2 separate regions of the Homo sapiens genome follow, and region 1 is linked to region 2. Evidence: promoter capture Hi-C in 16 types of primary human blood cells and fetal thymus (Javierre and others, 2016). All regions are on one chromosome and are shown on one strand. The core of a region is centred on a gene start or on the middle of the fragment in contact, and the rest is flanking DNA. Distances in the headings are between cores, read along the strand shown.

Region 1 (3,742 bases), core at 1,011-3,510, 110 kb after region 2:
AATCAGTTTAGGTTTTGCAGCTTACTAGAATTAGGTAACATTCTTAATCTTCCTGAGCCTGGTTTCTATCTACCAATAGAGATAACACTAACACAGAGGGATGTGGTTAAATTAAATGACTCAGATAAAATGTTATGTATCTTTTCAGGCTATCCTGTTAGGACATGCCCAGTAAATGTTAAGCCATCAGCAAATACTCTGCTTCCTTGACATGAATGAAGCCCATTCTCATGTTCTTCATGGTTTTCCTCGGCCATTGGTCTAAATATCAAGGCCATAGTTAAAAATTATCCCTGTCCCTTCACAGTCCATCTGCTTCCCCAAAGTATTCTCCTTGATGAATTGAGTCCCAATATTAGTAATATTCATCACTTTAGTTATTAATGTTCATATGTTTAAGATATTTTAATGTAAGGTAAATCATTACTCAAGAGAATAGCTAAGCTGGCTTTGTCAAAGATTTCAATGAGCTACCAGTACATCTTAATCAGAATTAACTTTCAAAGACAGGGAGAGCAATGATTCAAGGTGTGAATAGAAAAACGTTTTCTTTTTGTACAAAATGTTACTGTCATTTGTTCTGGTGGGGAAAAAGCTTAGAGTTAACCTAATTTACATTTTATGATTAGTTTAAAGAAAGTGTTATATAAATTTAGAATGAAAATAAATCAGTTTTCTTTAAACAGAAATGCAGATTTAAAAATGTCTTTTTATGCAACTGCCAGAAGGAAGCACTGTTTTGTCTGCAAATTCCCAGATTCTGCTCTAGTTTTAAAGGCTAACGACTGTGAAATGCAAATATAATCAGGGTTCCAGATGTGGCAATCAGGAAATGATTTGTGTACCAGCTATTTTTAACAAAAGGCTTGCAAACATGATAAATGAATAGTGAAAGTCAAAATGATATCAAATATGCATGAAAGTAGCATATATATAATTATAAATTACCTTTAGGAATTAATTATAACATTACTTCAGAGAGATTCGTATGATTTATTCCTATGGAGAATGTAGAGTCAGATGATCTAGGTTATCACTTTGGGACTAGGATATCACCAAAAATCTTTATGTTACAACATATGTGATAGAAATGAACACAATTTTACAGGAAGAACTAATCAGATGAATTCAGATTTCATTTGTACTTTGGTATAAATAGATCAAACTGGGTTTTCTCAACTAGATGTATAATAACTACAGATAAAAAGAACTATGCTGGTTTGCCAGAATGTAAAACACTGGCGAAAGTGAGGGGGCTGTATCAATGAGCTCGGGAAAGCAGCTCCATAGCCTCTATCTCCATCACACAGACATTTAGTTCAGATTTGAAAGAGAACTTGAGATCAGTCATTTCAACACATCTCCAAACCAGTTATGTTCAAACATGAAGGGATGGATAGATATCAGTCTATTATTTTTAAACTGCATAAAGGTATAACTCTTCAGTTTTCATCAAAACCACACTTTTTAGGTTATCAGGGTCCACAGTTCTTAAGCAAGCAATGCATGCTTAGTGCTATCTCCCTGCTATAAATAGCTTCTCAGTCTTCCCACCACTGCCCATCCCTTCTCTCCTTAATGTCTTGGTCAAAACCATCCCCCAGGAACCCCTTTCCACTTAATTGCTGATCATGTTGATGTTTTGATCACCTTAGCTACTTCCTAGAGTCGGTAGTATATATGTGAGATTTAACTTTAAAAATACCCATAAAGGGCTGGGCACGGTGGCTTATGCCTGTAATCCTAGCACTTTGGGAGGCCGAGGCGGGTGGATCACCTGAGGTCAGGAGTTTGAGACCACCCTGGCCAACATGGTGAAACCCTGTCTCTACTAAAAATACAAACATTAGCCAGGCGTTGTGGCGCATGCCTGTTATTCCAGCTACTCGGGAGGCTGAGGCAGGAGAATCGCTGGAACCCAGGAGGCGGAGGTTGCAGTGAGCCGAGATGGCGCCATTGCACTGTAGCCTGGGCAACAGAGCAAGGCTCCGTCTCAAAACAAACAAACAAACAAACAAACCCATAATGTATTAAATGCACAGTTTCTAACATAATATGAATATCCAGTAACTGCTGACTAGCATTATTATTATAACATTTACATTAAAACTAATCTGCACTGGTTTAAGTATCGCTTAATGATTGATTCTGTTTCTTTCACACACCTGTTCTTTTACTCCACCTGATGTAAAGGAAATACGTGAACATTTGTTGATTATTAATATGGTTTGGCTGTGTCCCCACCAAATCTCAACTTAAATTGTATCTCCCAGAATTCCCACATGTCACAGGAGGGACCCAGGTGGAGGTAATTGAATCGTGGTCGGGCGGGGGGGAAGGGGGTGGTCTTGCCGTGCTGTTCTCGTGATAGTGAGTACCTCTCACGAGATCTGATGAGTTTATCAGGAGTTTCCGCTTTTGCTTCTTCCTCATCGTCTCTTGCCGCTGCCATGAAAGGAGTGCTTTTTGCCTCCCACCATGATTCTGAGGCCTCCCCAGCCATGTAGAATTGTAAGTCCAATTAAGCCTCTTTTTCTTCCCAGACTCGGGTATATCTTTATCAGCAGCATGAAAACAGACTAATACAATTACCTACAGTGAGAGAGGCAGTGAAAGGTATAGAATTAGTGGAGTTCAAGCCTGAAACTGACCTGGGTTTGAATTCCATCCCTGCCACTTACTTGGACCTCTCTATGCCTCAGTTTCCTTAGTGTTAATTGGAGATAATAGATATTTTAGGGACACTGCAAAGATTATAAATAATTAAACCAATGTTTGGATCCAGAAGCGGTATTCATTACCTGATTTAATGTAAAATATTAGATAATTTGATTTTGTTTTGAGAATCTGACAACTCACTCTGACTGCTCTGCATCCCCTTACTAAAACAACTGTAAACAGCATTTTGCATGTAATTTCAGATTTTTGCTACTACAAAACCAGTTAGTGGAAAAAAGACATCTTAGAGTCTAATTTACATTTATAATTAGCTTAAAACAAAGTGTCACATAAATTTACAAAACCAAATAGTTGGTACAAACAAATCAGACAAAATGTTACAGGGAAACACAGACTACCATCCCGGAGAAGGACAAGCAACATTGTACTACTGTCAAAATTTGGATCAAAACTATGTCTCTGCCAGGTTTCACTTTAACTGGAATTGAAGTTCCTGACATAGCTGTCCCCATCACAGGCATAAATACCCATCAAATAAACTGCAGTTGAACAGCCTCAGTCCCTTTTCTATAAAATGGGTATTTAATAATACCATTTTGACAAGAGCCTTATGAATATTAAGAGAACATAAATAAACTCCCCTAGCAGCTGACAGCCAAGTAATTAATCTTTCAGCCATTTCCTTTCTCTTTTTCCTTTTTTTCCCATGTTCTGAGTTCTTTTACACTTCATGTCCCACAATGCTGAAGTAATTGAAATGCTTTTACTCAGATAATCTCATACAACTTCTAGCATAATAAACAAGGAAAGTTTAATGCATTATTGTTTAAACAATGTCATTATTCTTTTTGGTAACCTGATTTTTCCAAATATGTAACTCTTTGATTCTCCTATAATATAGTATGTCTTATCCATGGGCACAAATTGAGTGTGTGTCAGAAATATTAAGTCCCTGGAAAACTACCAGTGGTGCCATTTTGGGTTCTATTTATATGTTAACAGCTTCCCTAAAACCAAGTTATTATCATTTCTACTCTTCTTCTGTTTTAATGCCCTCAAAATG
Region 2 (3,637 bases), core at 429-2,928:
TAAAATGTAAGGTCCACTAAAATGTAGGTTCGATGAGAGTAAAGCTTTATCATTTTTATTCTTTGCTGCAACCTAGAACCTAAAAAGATGCCCATAATAGACATTTATTTAACAACAAATATTTATTGAGTACCTACTTTGTGTCAGACATTGTTTTAGGTGCCTAGGATACATAAGTGAAAAATCAGATGATGATCTTTGTCTTAATAACAAATGTTGAATAAAATAATAAAAATCTGCAAACTGTTCAAAACACTTTATAGATAATATGTAATAAAACCTTATCATATTATATATGATAATCTCATGAGAATTCCATAACCCATGCTTTAATCCCACCAAGATACAAAAGTATCTTGAAAGTAAAATATACTGTACTATCATTACAATTCCTTATTTCATGGAAACTTGAATTATCTTCCAAAAACACATAAGCAAAAAACAAGACCTTCATTAGGCCATAGCATACTGCAGCTGTCCACAAACGGAAAATTATCAGAATCATTTATCAGAGCAAAAGCACGAAATAAACTTCTACTCATGTTATTACATCTGCTTTTTGGTGAATAGGTGACTGAAAAAGTTACCGGCTACCACTTTGCACTTCATCACACAATGTAGAATATTTTACTCCCTGGCATGCAACAATACACAAGACTCAAAAGCTTCTGCTCATTCTTAATTCCAACTGAATCCGTGTAAACTAGGAGACGGGGGAAAGGAGCTAAATCAAGACAATAGGATCTTTCAATTCTGAAGGTTTGTTCTTCATCATAACAAATTAAAAAATCTTGAAACTGTTGTTGCCAATGCTAGTTATTGTGGTTTTTGTCCTTCCTTTGTTTTTAGGTGAATGCTTTCATTACACAGGATAAAATGGGTAAACAGAATAGAGAAAAAGTGAAAGAACTGGGAACAAAGCAAAATCTGGAGTCATGGTTACAGTACAAAGATAAACCCAAAGATAAGGAACCAATACAGGCTCTTCCTCACACAGCGGCCGTGAATAAGTCATCAAATCCTCCGGGTAATCTATTGTACCGGCTCTAAAGCTGGCCAGTGACACTTCCTTAGGAGATGCTCTGACATCCCTCCGACAGAAGATGCTGTCGAAATGTAAAAAGCCGGTTACCTAGGGAAATCGGCCAAGGAATGTCAGGAGCTCGAGGCTGGAGACACACCCCGGGGCTGCAGCACAAAGTGGCCTGTTGGTGTTAAGGCCGTGGACAATAATGGAGAGAGTCCAGTACAAGGAAAACAAAATCTGGCCAGAGACTGGGATCACTAAAAGGGCACTCAGGAGTCAAGCAAGATCAGAAAATGGTAGGAAGAGACGTGCAGGCGTCTTGCCAGGGGCAGGATCTGGCTCCGGGCGGGAAAGCCCAGTTGAAGACCGTCTGAGGCGGGGCAGCCTGGTAGCGTTAGCTCCACCGCATCGGGGACTGTCCGGTTCCCTTCGGCCCCAGCCTCCGGAGGCGCGGCGGGACGCGGCGAGGTCCGCCGCACCGAACCAGCCCTCGCCTTCCTGCTACTGGTGTCCAGGGTCCCCAGCTGTTTCGGGCCCGCTCTAGCCGTCCTGCCCTCATCCCTTCATCGCCTCACCTTCCAGTCCCTCCATCGCGCCACCTCCTCGAGCTCAGCGAGACTCCTTCAGCAGCGCCCGCCACCGCCCAGCTCTGGCTGTAGCAACCCAGCCGCACCTCCCACCCGCTAACATTCCGAGCTCCCATTGGTTCCGCAACTGCGGGGGCGGGGATCCGTGGGGGCGGGGCCGCGGCGGAGGCGAGGTTCCTGCGGTCTCCTCCTGGCTGCCACCCCTGTCCGTCTCTCCGGGTTACTCTCCAGGGAGCCGGGAGCCGCTTCAGGTTGCAATCTGCGATGCAACGGCGCCTTTGTTTGACTCCAGCCTTGTTTTGCCTCATACCTTATCCTCCTATTTAGAGTACCTCAGCACCTCATGGGCTCCGCTTCACCAGTTCCTCAATCAGTCAATGCCTCTGACTTCTAGCCGCCATCCCTCCCAGTGGATACTTTAAGCAGGCAAGCAAACCAAACAAACGCCCAGCACGCTTGCATGCAGCAATCTCCGTTTTCCGGTCTTTGGTCGCATGACTTGACCTCAGCGTATCCCCTACACTTGATCTTCACACACAGCTTCATAGGTTAAGACACTTTTTTTCCAGAGAAATCATACTTTCTATCTGCGATTGTGGAACTGCGATTGCTCTAAGCCCTTGAAAACAGTTTCCTCACCATGAAAGCTTGGGCCAAAAATTAGAAGTGAAACCCAGCCCTCCCTCTGTCTTCTACTCTTGGCCTACCTTGGCCCTATACTTTATCATCCATAAACCAAAACAGTCGCCTGGCCTGACAATGTTTGATCGGGGAAGTTTGAGTTGGGGAATTAACCTACAACCTGACAGAATGAGGCCCGCCCGTCTCTAACAGAGTTCAAAACCTCCTGAAGATGAAAGTAACTTCAAAACTAACTCAGACCATTTTAACGGTTTTGCTTACAATTACCAGAACTACATTTCTTTGAAAATTTGATTTAGCAATCGTAAACAAGCTGTACTGTTTGCTGACTATAGCGTATCTACTGGCAAGTTACCAGTATTAATGTGTTGTCCATAACAAACCTCGGATTAATGTTATTGTTAATCTGTTTAATTGAAGAGTTTAACTTCATATCTAACTTCATCTACTATGAAATCAGTTACCTTCAGGAAGCAGGATTCCTCCTACTCTCCACTCACATGAAGGTATGTTTAAACAAGCAAACACTTGAGGGGGCATCATCTCTTACTGAGAAGGTGCTCCAAGTGCATTTGAATGTGGTAGAGTCCATCTGTTGTGTGGAGCCATGTAAAGACCACTTCAACCATGCCTCAATGACTCCCTCCGCCCTTCCCTGGTTCCCCTGGCTCTTCTGCTTCTCTGAGATCCTGGGCCTCCTTGGCCAACCCATAGCCTTGCAGGCAATAAGCTACTCTAGACTGGGTGCTGCGGAAAGGTCCTTTTTCTTCCTTAGTGCTACTAAGGCAAAGGTAGAATTTTTGGTTGGGAGGGAAGGCCTTTTAAAAGAGCATTAAGGAGAAAAAAAAGCACACAGAAGAAAATACAAAAATAAGGAAGCCATTATTTTACAAATTACAAGTTCTTTCACTGAAGGCAAGACGAATATTGAGTTGGCTGATACCTTATTCGACATAAAATCTACAGTAACATTAAAAATAATAAAAATAGCATTAAAGAATAAATCATGTGAGGCATGTTTTAGGCCATTTTCATATATTCACAAATCTTCAAAAGAAATCTACAAAGTAGATACTACAATCTTCATTTATCAGAATTAAAATGTTCATTTTCTAGATGTCTCAGAGCAATTAATATTTTGTCAATATTTGTATTATTAGTGGATGGTAGAGCTTGGCTACACTCTTGTCTGTTAAATTCTAAAGCCTATGGTGATTTGATTGGGCTCCTCACTCCCTTTCCTTGCCTTGCCTTTTATTATAGCTGCCTCAAGTGTAAACCCAAGCGTTCAGACATGTTGTTTAACATATATTTGAGTAGGCATTTCTATTGTGAATCTTAATTCTCTAAAACATGATTGCTAGTCTTCCCTACAGGTATC

What was found. The method cuts DNA at HindIII sites, captures the fragments that hold promoters and counts their contacts. A CHiCAGO score of 5 or more calls a contact.
Region 1: a fragment that was not itself captured here is called in contact with the fragment with the promoter of ZC2HC1A in region 2 in 2 of 17 cell types (activated CD4 T cells and non-activated CD4 T cells); the score reaches 5.8 in activated CD4 T cells.

What each region holds. Positions count from the first base shown.
Region 1 is chr8:78,557,193-78,560,934 of GRCh38, reverse strand. The region is part of intron 1 of PKIA (cAMP-dependent protein kinase inhibitor alpha); the gene reads right to left. It overlaps PKIA-AS1 (PKIA antisense RNA 1), which reads left to right and starts at 2,432. Exons shown (of 3, transcript NR_125389.1): 1 at 2,432-2,511. The region is part of intron 2 of LOC105375911 (a long non-coding RNA gene); the gene reads left to right. The HindIII fragment of the contact is 3,325 bases long and covers 598-3,742 here.
Region 2 is chr8:78,664,130-78,667,766 of GRCh38, reverse strand. ZC2HC1A (zinc finger C2HC-type containing 1A) reads right to left here and starts at 1,678. Exons shown (of 9, transcript NM_016010.3): 1 at 1,603-1,678. The coding sequence starts at 1,618. LOC105375911 (a long non-coding RNA gene) reads left to right here and starts at 1,788. Exons shown (of 4, transcript XR_007060972.1): 1 at 1,788-2,762. RefSeq lists enhancers at 1,525-1,574, 1,539-2,046, 2,047-2,555 and a silencer at 1,645-1,864. The HindIII fragment of the contact is 1,596 bases long and covers 668-2,263 here.